Regions from separate parts of the Homo sapiens genome. Here region 1 is linked to region 2. The links are contacts of gene promoters, found by promoter capture Hi-C in blood cells and fetal thymus (Javierre and others, 2016). All regions are on one chromosome and are shown on one strand. Each heading gives the region's core, a stretch centred on a gene start or on the middle of the fragment in contact. The rest is flanking DNA. Distances are from core to core; before and after follow the strand shown. Region 1 has its middle 5.6 kb from the start of FOXN1. Region 2 holds the start of PIGS (phosphatidylinositol glycan anchor biosynthesis class S).

Evidence for each region. Contacts are between HindIII fragments. The CHiCAGO score rates a contact against its expected background, and 5 or more counts as called.
Region 1: a contact is called between a fragment that was not itself captured here and the fragment with the promoter of PIGS in region 2, in 3 of 17 cell types (naive B cells, total B cells and M2 macrophages). The highest score is 5.4, in naive B cells.

What each region holds. Positions count from the first base shown.
Region 1 is chr17:28,497,824-28,503,754 of GRCh38, forward strand. No RefSeq gene overlaps it. Among named protein-coding and RNA genes, the nearest start is that of FOXN1, 5.6 kb to the right of the region's middle. RefSeq lists a silencer at 3,325-3,521. The HindIII fragment of the contact is 4,283 bases long and covers 695-4,977 here.
Region 2 is chr17:28,568,885-28,574,124 of GRCh38, forward strand. It overlaps PIGS (phosphatidylinositol glycan anchor biosynthesis class S), which reads right to left and starts at 2,640. Exons shown (of 12, transcript NM_033198.4): 1 at 2,579-2,640; 2 at 2,165-2,304; 3 at 1,968-2,079. The coding sequence starts at 2,612. ALDOC (aldolase, fructose-bisphosphate C) reads right to left here. Exons shown (of 9, transcript NM_005165.3): 7 at 5,183-5,240; 8 at 4,851-5,050; 9 at 4,236-4,737. The coding sequence ends at 4,642. RefSeq lists a silencer at 1,984-2,180 and enhancers at 2,161-2,280, 2,971-3,020. The HindIII fragment of the contact is 5,378 bases long and covers 811-5,240 here.

The sequences.
Region 1 (5,931 bases), core at 1,586-4,085, 71 kb before region 2:
AATGTGGTTCAGACCCCAGGTTGGGGGAGTCCAGAAGGAGGGGGCCTGGCCTTTGTCCTATATGCAGCCCCCTTGGCACCCCTCCCACCCAGGGGGGAAGGTAATGGCCGGGCATCCCTGCCAAGGCCCATCAGAGTGGGCGCAGCCACCTAGGAGAGCAGCACTGACATCACTGGGCCTGGCTAATTGGGAGCTGCCAGTCCCTGCGTGTCTTTGGGAAAACCAGCTTCCCCGTTCCCAGAGCACTCCCTGGGTATTTACATAAAACCCTCTGCCCCTGCCAATTCCTCATCGACCCTTCCTCCAGCTGGAAAAACCGGTCCCACCAGGCCAGAGAAGGCAGGCTGACCTGTGCTGGGTGCCCAGAGGACCGACCCTCATCCTGCAGCACAGCAACAGGCTGGAAACTGGCATGGCCTTCAGAGTCCAGGACCAGAAAACTTTGGATGATTCCGCCTCCCCCACCCCACCTCCACCCGGCCTCCCCACACTCCCCCACCCCACATCCTCATGGACTCCAGAGTTTTCATTTATCTAGCAAGGTGGGGGTGGGGATGGGGAAGAATGACACCGTATCCATCGTTCCATCTGCGAGCCAAACAGCCCTTCCCTGCTGGAAGTTCATCTTTGTGTTGATGCTAAGTCTCGCCCACTGTGGACAGTGGCGTGTCAGCCTTGAGTTCATCCAGAAGGAAGCTTCCTAGAGTCTCACCCCATCCCCTCCTCCTCCAGTGGGACAGAAAAGAGATATTTCTCATCACCTTCATGCCCAAATGAAAAAGGGGGCTGGGCTGTGAAGAGAGAAAACCAGAAAGGATTTCCTTCTGGATCCCCCTGGGCCGGGCTTTCACTGGGTCCTCCCAGAGCTGGGGGTTGGAAGTGCAGTTAGGAGGGGGCACTGCGTGGGGGAGTACGTGGCTGTCCCCAGGGGACAGGGGGTCCTGACAGGACACGCCAGGCATCCCAGAGAGCCAGGAGTGTCAGGCGGGTGGCTCCAGCCCCACCCTGGTCCCCCAGGCTGGCATTCCTCACTCATGAAGCACAGCCATAAATCACAGCTCCCACTCAGACCCACAGGAGGACCCCCTCCCACCCACCAAAGCCCCAGGCAACAGTCCCCTGCATTGGAAACGGCTGGCCCCAGAATGTTGGGGCTCCCCCAGTGGCCTACCCACAATGCAGTGGCTCCCTAAGGAGCAGCCCAGCTCCATCTGCAAGGAGGACCCTCTGCTGCCACTTCCTTCTGGACCCTGGCTGGGGAAAAGGAGAGTGTGCTTCTCAGGGTGCACATGCCCTGCCCACTGTTCTCGGCACACTTCCCCCTCAGTCCGGCTCAGAGAGGGTCAGGTGTGGACTGAGATCACACAGCAGTCCCAGAAAGTGAGCACCCGGTTGGCCCTGCATTCTCCAGGAAGGAGGTGGACGCCAGCCAGCCTGAGGGTCGACAGTTTGGCTGCGGTGGATGCCCTGGCAGAGCTCTGGGGCCAAGCCTCCCCTAGGTGCTCAGAAAACACCCTCTTTAGCAGGCAGGAGGGTGGACAGGCAGCAGGTGGCACCTGTCGGCCTAATCACCATCATTAACTGGGCAATAAAGCGGCACGGCCTGGGCTAGTCTTTGAAGGAAGGGCCCGCCAGCCAGGTCAGGTTTACACAGGCAGCCCGGCAGCTCGGCTCCACACACACTCCAGGCTGCGGCAGGTAGATGGGCCCTGCTGGGACTGAGTCTGCAGCCTCGCTGCCCAGGCACCCACACCCCATCATTGATGGCTTCTAGGAAGTTAGCAGTGAGCTTTGGGTGTCTCCTACCAGCTGGACTTGTGCGGTGCTGGGACTCAACAACTTCTGCGGTAGTGAGCATCCCATTGCTAAGATCAACAAGTCTGGAAGTGACTTGAGGACAGTCTGCCTGATTCGAGCTGTGTCCCCAGTTCCTCCACAGGGCCTGGCACAGCAAATAGTGCATGAAGGAGGAATGTGTGGGAACTATACGGGAGCTTCTTGCTCCCAGAGGGAAGCTGGACACGCTCCCCTCCAAGCCTCTTTCCAGACTGCCGTGTGTGGAGTGCTGTGTGACTTTGAGAAATATCTTGACCTCTCTGGGCCAATGTCACCTTAAGCTCAGCAGATAGGCCCAGATTTCTGAGCCGACCCATAGTGTTCCCCTGACCCTGTCCCCTGAGGTCCTGGGAGTGTCCCTGTTTCCCTACTCCCTCCTCCTGCCAGCCAGCACCAGCCCTCTATGGCAACCACAGGGCCCAGGGATAGGTGGAGCTTGTTAGGGAGCTTGTGGAGGCAGGAGCAGGGCTGTCCACACCACTCTCTGAGTTCACCTGGACCTGGGCCCCGGCCAAAGTGCGCTCTAGAGGTTAAGGTCATTGGCCCCAGAGTAGGCTCCTTGGGGGCGCAGGCCATGACTTCCTATCTCCTCACAGTCTTGGAGGGGAGGCTGCTTTCTGAAGGAGGGAGGGAAGGGTGGAGGAAGCTAGGGAGTGTTGGGTCAGGGGTCGAGTAGAACTGGGTGGGTGAAGTTCTGGTGGAGTACCAGTCTCCAACCCTGCAGCCTCCACCCCAGTTTGGCAAGGGAAGGGGAAGGGGGTGTGCAGAGGAGAAGGCAAGGAAGGGAACAGAGCAGCCTAGTTGGAAAGAATGTGACGGGGACTCAGAAGAGTGCTCTGAAGGGTGGAAAGACCCACAAATGTGTGTACGTGGAGTCACAGATCCTTGGGTACCCACAGAACCCATAGACACATGCACAGACATGGATACCCGGGAACACACAGTTACACACATTCACACACAAACACTCATGCATACAACATTACAGGCTCTCACAGCCTGAAAGACACACAGGACCACCCCCAGAAACACACACAGACATACACAGCCACAGCCACCTGTACACACACAGTCGCTCAGACGCCTCCGCACCCCGTGTCAGACCTGAGTGTTCTCGCTGCATGTGGCTACCCACATTTAGACACAGATTCTGGCACGGACATACCCAGTAGCACATTACAGCTCCACAGACTTCAGGCGCACCCATGGTGACACGTGAAAGTGAGAACACAAATGTAAATACGTACACACTCATGCAGAGGTACACATGTACTTACACAGACACTGACACCAGTGAAAACACACACACCCCAGCATTGCTTCTCCCACCTCCACAGCAGGAGGGATTAAGACAAGAGGTGAGAAGCCCTCCCCACCCAGCAGGACTCTGTGTTCCTCCCCCACCGACCCCCCCACCAAGCTCTCAGATTGGAAACTCCCTGGATTTCCCAGGGGGTCAGCCAACCAGAACAGGCTCAGACCTCGGCCCAGCTGCCCCGCCACACGCCCTCCACAGCTCTGGGTGCTTCTCCATCAGCCACAGCCAATGAGCTGTCTGCTCTTCCCCAGGAAGCTCACCCTAATTAACCCCAGATCTCCCCACCCCTTCTTTGACATGTGGTCCCTGGGCCTCAGGGCCTCATGGCAGCTTTGCTTGGGCCCTGTTCCTCTGTGGATGTTCTTCAGTGTCTTGCACACCAGTGGAGTGAGACTTGGAAAGCAGCAGGCTCAAATCTTGGGAACTCACTTTGGAAAAGCAAGTCCAGCCTGCATGAGCGGAAGCAGACAGAAGATGGCCAATCCAGATGCAGGGTTCAGGAAGGGGTCCCCCTCCTCCATCACATTGGGGCTCCCAAGGGTGGGCACATGCTCTTCCTTCTTCCTAGCGTCCCTAGGGTCTTTCCCCAGACTGAAGCATAGCAGACATGGGCCCCAGGGATTTCCATCCCCAGCCAGGGCTGTTTTCTGGCCCAAAGCAGCCCAGCCCTGGGCACAGCTCAGCAGCATACAGTGAACTGCTTCTGACCTCCAGTATTCAGAGGGACAGAGCTTTCTCTGGCCCCAGCCTGTCTAAGCATCTAGCTGCAGCTCCTCCAGGCCAGAGCCCAGCTCAGCTCCATCTGAGGACCTGAAATGAGGGTGCTGGAGTGTGTGGGACCAAAACTCCAGACAAAAGTCCTTTCCCAATACTGCAGCAGCTGGAGTTGAGGCTAGACACCAGGACAGACTTTCTGGGCCTAAGAGAGAATTCTGGAGGGCTGGTGTGATGAGAGAAGGAGGGGATGGTCCTATCTAGAGACAGAGGAGAAACACCTCACAAATCCCCTTTCAGTCCAAGGACTGTGGCAATCCCAAGGTTCCTGTTTCAACTCCCAGACTGCATGCAATGAGGAAGTCATGCTTCCCAAAGGAAAGAGGGAGCCAGAGCCAGAGCCTACACCCATTCCTGGGGCAGAGGTGGATCCTGATTTGGAAGAGAAAGAAGTTCATCTCACCCGCCAGAAGCAGTCTCACTGTGGGAGGTGATAACTACAGTCTCTCCTGGGCATCCCATCAGGGCCTCCCTGAGACCCTTGGCCCCTGAATTAATTTGCATTTTCTTGATTTTTAATGAAGTTGAAAATCGTTTCACTTGTGTCTTGGCCGTTTGTATTTTACCTGTGAATTGCTTGTGTCCTTTGCCCATTTTTCTGTGAAATCATCTTTTTATTTATTTAGAGGAGCTCCTTATATATTGTGGCTATTAACTCTCTATCTGTTACATATGTTTCAACACTTTCTTCCAGGCTATGTTATGTCTTTTAACTTTGTTCATGTTACATTTTGCTCTAAAGAAATTTACAGTTTTTATTTAGTCAAATCTGTCAATGTATTCCTTTATGGCTTCTGCATTTGATGTCATGTTTAAAAATGCCTTTCTCCACTCCATAATCATAAAAATATTTCCTATATTTTTTCTATTTGTTTGTATGATTTTCATTTTTACATTAGATTGTTAATCCATCTAGATTTTTTAATGTACAGTGTGAAGTAGGATTTAACTTTATTTCTTTCCAATGGAAAGTTCATTGCCCCAACTCCATTTATTAAATTTTTTACTTGCTACTTTAAAATACTTTACAGTCCAGATGTCGTGGCTCAAGCTTATAATACCAGTGCTTTGGGAGTTTGAGACCAGCCTGGGCAACAGAGCAACACCCCATCTCTACAAAAAAAAATTCTTTTTTAACTAACTGAGCATGGTATAACTGTAGTCCCAGCTACTGGGGAGGCTGAAGTGAGAGGATCACTTGAGTCCAGGAGGTGGAGGCTGCAGTGAGCTATGATCTTGCCACTGCACTCCAGCCTGGGCAACAGAGCGAGACCCTGTCTCAGAAAAATAAAGTAAAATACCCTACTATTATATATCTATTTTAAAATACCTTGTTATCATATTCCCATTTCTCACAAATATCCAAGTTTATTCTGGACTCTATTATCTTCCATTAATTTATTTATTTCTGTATCAAAGTTGCAGCTTTAATTATGGAAGCCTTATTGAACATTTTGAAAACTGGCAGGGAAAGTTACCTCTGTTAGTCTTCTTTCTCAAAAAGCTCCAAGCTATTCTCATGTATTTACCCTTCCCCCAAACTATAGAATCAACTCGTCAAGTTTAGGGGGCAAAAAATCCTTTAGACTTTTGATTTGAATTACATTCAGCTTCTATTTAGAGGAGAACTGACATCCTTACAATATTATATTCAGCCTTCCTGTTGTTGCTGTTTTAGAGACAGGGTCTCTCGCCTTGTAGCCCAGGCTGGTGTCAAAACTCCTGGGATCAGGCGATCCTCTCACCTCCCGAAGTGCTGGGATTACAGGCATGAGCTACCATGCCTAGCCTTTTTTTTCTTTTTTACTTTTTTTTTTTTTTTTCAGCCTTCCAGTTCAGTAACATGATATGCCCTTATTTTTTATTCAGGTCTTATTTTATGTCTGTCAGTAAAAATGTATTGTTTTCTTCATGTAGATTTCATGCATTTCTTATTAAGTTTATTCCTGGATATTTTGTATTGTTATTTTTGTGAGCTAAATCTTTTTGTCTCCTTTTTTTTC
Region 2 (5,240 bases), core at 1,390-3,889:
CAGGAGTTTGAGACCAGCCTAGCCAACATGGTGAAACCCCGTATCTACTAAAAATGCAAAAAATTAGCTGGGCGTGGTGGCAGGCGCCTGTAATCCCAGCTACTTCAGAGGCTGAGCCAGAAGAATCGTTTGAACCCAGGAGGCAGAGGTTGCAGTGAGCCAAAATCGTGCCATTGCGCTCCAGCCTGGGCAACAAGAGCGAAACTCCATCTCAAAAAAAAAAAAAAAAAAGAAAGAAAACCAGAAGTTTGTGTGTGTACAGAGGCTGAACCATACGAAATATCATTTTTTTAAAAAAATGTTTTAACCAGCCGGGTGCGGTGGCTCACACTTGTAATCCCAGCACTTTGGGAGGCTGATCACTTGAGCCCAGGAGCTCGAGACCAGCCTGGGCAACATGGCGAAACCCTATCTCTACTAAAAATACCAAAACAAATCAGCTGGGTGTGATGGTGTGCGGCTGTAGTCCCAGCTATTAAGGCAGGTGGGCTGAGATGGGAGGATCGCTTGAGCCCAATAGGTCAAGGCTGCAGTGGGCCCTGATCGTGCCACCATACTCCAGCCTGGGCAACAAAGAGAGACCCTTTCTCAAAAAAAAAAAAAAAAAAGAAAAGAAAAGTTTTCACCAAGGCTAAAGAACTAAAAAAGTAAATGGCACACAGATGCCTCATGCTCTAGACTCAGCCCAAATCTCCAGTCATTCCCAGTCTTTCACTACACATTCCAGTAAGGCAAAACTGCTCATAGGTCCCCCAATATGCTGATTCACCCCGCCACACTTTCACACAGGAGTATAGTTTGTTGGTTAAAAGCTTGAACACTGGAATCAGTCAGGCCTGGATTTAAATCCCAGTTCCATCTCTTACTAGCTGTGTGACCTTGCACAAGTTAAATTCTCTAAGGCTCAGTTTCTTCATTTATAAAATGGGGATCATATCATTAGAAAGGATTAAATGAGGCAACACATATAAAATGCTTCACCTAGTTTCTGGCACACAGCGAGCAACAACTATCAGCTATCCTTATACTGTCTCATGCTATTAACTTTGCCTGAAATTCTCTCCCTCCTTTTCCCACTTAACCTGAATTCCTACACATCCTTTAAAAATCCGACTTAAGAATTACATCTCTCAAAACTTTCTCTGCCTTTCTTTCCTCCCAGATGGTTAATACTCTTTACTAAGTGCAATCTCTGTTTCTTGTATACTTCTACTGTAATTTATTTTATCTTTCTCCCCTACCTATGAACATCTTGAAACCATTATCAATTTCTTATTCATTCCTAAATTCTTGGTACCTAAAAAAAAGTACCCCAGTAAAGTGTTTAATGTTAAACTGAATAGGGGCTGGGCGCGGTGGCTCACGCCTGTAATCCCAACACTTTGGGAGGCTGAGGCATGCGGATCACCTGAAGTCAGGAGTTCGAGAGCAGCATGGCCAACATGGCATAACCCCGTCTCTACTAAAAATACAAAAATTAGCTGGGCGTAGTGTCGCGCGCCTGTAATCCCAGCTACTCGGGTGGCTGGTGCAGAAGAATCGCTTGAACCCAGGAGGCAGAGGTTGCAGTGAGCCAAGATGGCGCCACTGCACTCCAGCCTGGGCGACAGAGCGAAGCTCCGTCTCAAAATATAATAAATAAATAAACAAACAAACTAAATAGGGCCTATATGCAAATCCAATTTAATTTCAAACTCTGTGTTCTTTCCACTATATCCCACCTCTTCCCCTATACCCTGATGGGCATCAACTGCTTCCGATTAGGTAGCCTGTCTTACGAGTAAAATTGCTATTTAGTGACTGTGAATTTGAAAGTAGTTTTTTTCTGACCAAACACACTGTTCATTCAGAGGTCTTTCAACAGTAAGTTTTTAACTGCGTTTATGGTACACCCCCGCTCCTCCCACCCAACTCAGCTCTGAACTGAGCTCAGAGGCGAAAAGCAGCCCTGATCCCCAGTAACTCACATTTCAGAGGAATCTCTCTTTCATGCACAACGGTGAAGGGCAGCTTCTCCTGGTCGTCCAGGGGCACTGACTCCCGCGTAAACACGACAGTGACAGGCACCATGAGGCGGAGCTACAGGAAGGAGCATCAGGGCCGTCACTGAGTCTCCACCTTGCCGGGGGGGCTGTCCCCCGACCCTCCCGCACAGCAGTCTCACCTGAAGGGCATTCAGGCCACTGATCTGGGAGTAAGGCAACGAGGCCCGGTAGGTCTCCGTGGTCTTCCACCAGAGCGGTAGCCCCAGCACGATGGCCACCGCAGCGAAGAAGAGGGCGGCGCGCTTGCCCCGGGCCACCTCTGAGGGCATGGGGAACCGACTGAGGCGCTGGAAACGGGCTAGGGTACCGGCCCCATCCCCGACGCGGAGAAGCCCCAACCACCGGCCTCCAGGGGCCCGCGTTCATTGGGATCTCCGTGCGAAGGGACCCGGCCCAAGCCTGAAGGGAATCTCGTCTGAAGAGACCCCCGAGCCCCCCGTCCGCGGGACCTCTCGCACACCACAATCCCCACCCCTGCTATTCCTCCCTTGCCATCAGCTAGCTGCAGGCCCCCCACCCGAAGCCCACCGCACCTAGGTGTGTAGCCGCAGCCCCGGCGGCCGCCATGCTAGCTTCCGGCTGCTCCGGCCACCGTGGGGGCAGAGCTTCGTGAGCCTCACCCAATCGGAATCTCTGCAACGAGGGGGCAGGACCGCGGCGGTGATCGGGGCCAATCGCGAGCGCTACTCCAGACCCGCAGACGGGAGCAAGCGGGCGAGGGGTGGGAGGGCTCCGCTGGGAGCTTCGCTGGGGATCTGAAAGGAAGTCACCCGGGCGCGGAGGGACAGCCTAGGGGCCGTGCGGGTTTCGGCGCTGCTGGAACGAAGTTCCCCGCTTCCCTGTAGAACACACTTCTAGCCCCGCAATCAAGAGCGCAACCTCTGCAGTCCTTAAATACTAGCTGGGCAACTACAGGCAGCTCCGAGGCTCATCTGAAAATGGAGATATTTACATAAATGAGGCCGTTCTTGTAAGGAGCCTGGCACACGGAAAGCCCTCAACGTCAACTGTCACGGTCTTATTATCCTTATCGTAGAACTCCTCTTAGGGTGCCCTCTCCTCAAAGCCTCAAACACGGAGGTAGCAAGCTAGTATGTTTTAGCACAATTGGCTCTCTCGCTATTTTAAAATACGTTTTAATTCATTTCCAACTTGGAAAACTCAGAATACTTCACTTAAAAATCTTGAAAAGTCATGAGCCCAGACTCTAGATGCTGATCACTGCGGTTCAAATCCTGGCTTCATCACTTATTAGGTGAGTGATCGTGAGAAGATCGTTCTGTGCCTATCTGTGCCTGTTTTCTCTATTAAAATAGGGATGATAGTAATAGTACCTACTTTATAGAGTTGTATGAAATGTGTCAGTACATATAAAGTGATTAGAACAGGGTTGGTGCTATGTGCAAGCTATTTTTGTTATTATAAAGTCAGGCCACACAGGGTGGAGCATTTGTAGCCTCCCCAGTTGACACAGAACACACGCAGCTTGTTATCTCTTCTTTTTATCTGCTTAGACCCAGGTTCTCAGCCTACCTCACAACCCAGCCCAGTGGTTAAAGTTCAGCATCAGGCCTCACCAGAGCTGTCCTTACCCAGACCCTCCAATTGGCTCCCTTTGTGCCCACTTCTACCCCAAATGAAAATGGGCCATAGCCCTTGGCAACCTCCTAGATGCCCTGCTCAGCCCTGGCAGCCCGCAGAGCCTTGGTTTTCCTCTTTGGGCGGGAGTCCAGGTGCTCGCTTGCCCTTACTGGTGTGGCTCACCCTAGTGGAAGGTACCAGGTCCCAGCTGGGCTTAACACTGCGAGATGGGAGAGACTCCCACCCACTCTTATCCCAGCCTGTCTTGCTGCCTCCCTGCTTTGAGCCTTGCACAAATCTGCCTTCAGGAGTTGCCAGTTTGGCCTCACTCCATACTTCTGTAGCTGCAGCCCAGTGCCACTGATGTGGCAGTCCCTAGAAGACTTGCAGTCTTCCTCATTGCCCCACTCCAGACTTGGACATCAAGAGAGCAAGAGCCTGAGCTGGGGATGGTGACTGCATGTGCCCTTCCTCCATAACTTGAAGCCCAGTAAGACTCAAATCCCACCCTCTCCACCTCCAGAGTCAGAGGGCCCAGAGATAGAATTAGCAGAGATCAGAAACTGGGAGGTGGGAATTTGATGTGTAAAACAGACAGGCAAAGTAGAATGTTTTGCTACCATTTATTTGCTGTATGGTATGTACTCAAGGCATGAGTCAGGGCTTCTGTACTACCCTCTGATCCCAGGAGACAGGGCAGGCAAGAAGGAGAGCCCAGGGAGAAGCTACCTCATCATGGGAAAATTGTGGGAGCTGGAAGAGGTAGGGGGAGACCCAGCCATCCTGTTCTGACTTCTAGCAATTTCTTCTGCCCTCAGTCATGAGGGGCTCCCTATCCTCCCATCCTATGGTCCCAGGTGCAGCAATGAGAGAGGGGAAGGGAAGAGAGAAAGGAAGACAAGTTGGTGCCAGGTGAAGGCATCTCTGCTCTGCATAGCTATTTGGCCCTGGCCATGACTACAAGCAAAAGTGGGTGCAGATGGCTGGGCCAAGGGCTGTGGTATGGAGTGGATACTCAGTAGGCATGGTTGGCAATGTAGAGTGACTGTGCTGCTGCTCCACCATCTTCTCCACTGCCTTCATACTTGCCCTGGGCTGCAAGCCCATTCACCTGCAAAAGGGAGCGTGGAGTAAGCAGGCTGAGCCAGCCCACAGGTGCCAAGCCCTGCCCAGGCTATAGCCTCTGGGTGCTGCCCCCACCCACCACCACCTGTAGCTCCCAACCTCAGCCCGCTTGATGAACTCCTCAGTGGCAGCCCCAGCATTGTCCCGTTGCCCTCGCCAGGCATTGAGTGCAGAGGCTTGCAGGGCACGCCCATAGGAGAAGGTAAGCGCCCAGGGTCGGGGAAGGGGGCAGCGGTTGATGGCATTGAGGTTGAATGATGCCTCTTCTTCGCTCTGACCCCCAGACAGGAAGGTCACTCCTAGTGTGGAGGAGAGAAGACAAACTGACTGGTCACTCCCAATTTTTCCAGGATAGGGAACCCCTGAAGGCCACAAGAAGGACCTGAAGATGGGCCTTAGGGATAGGAGCAGGTTAGGGAGCTGGGTAGTACCTGGGACAGCTGGGGGCACAGTGCGACGCAGGGCAGTGACAGTTGCCATGGCAATCTC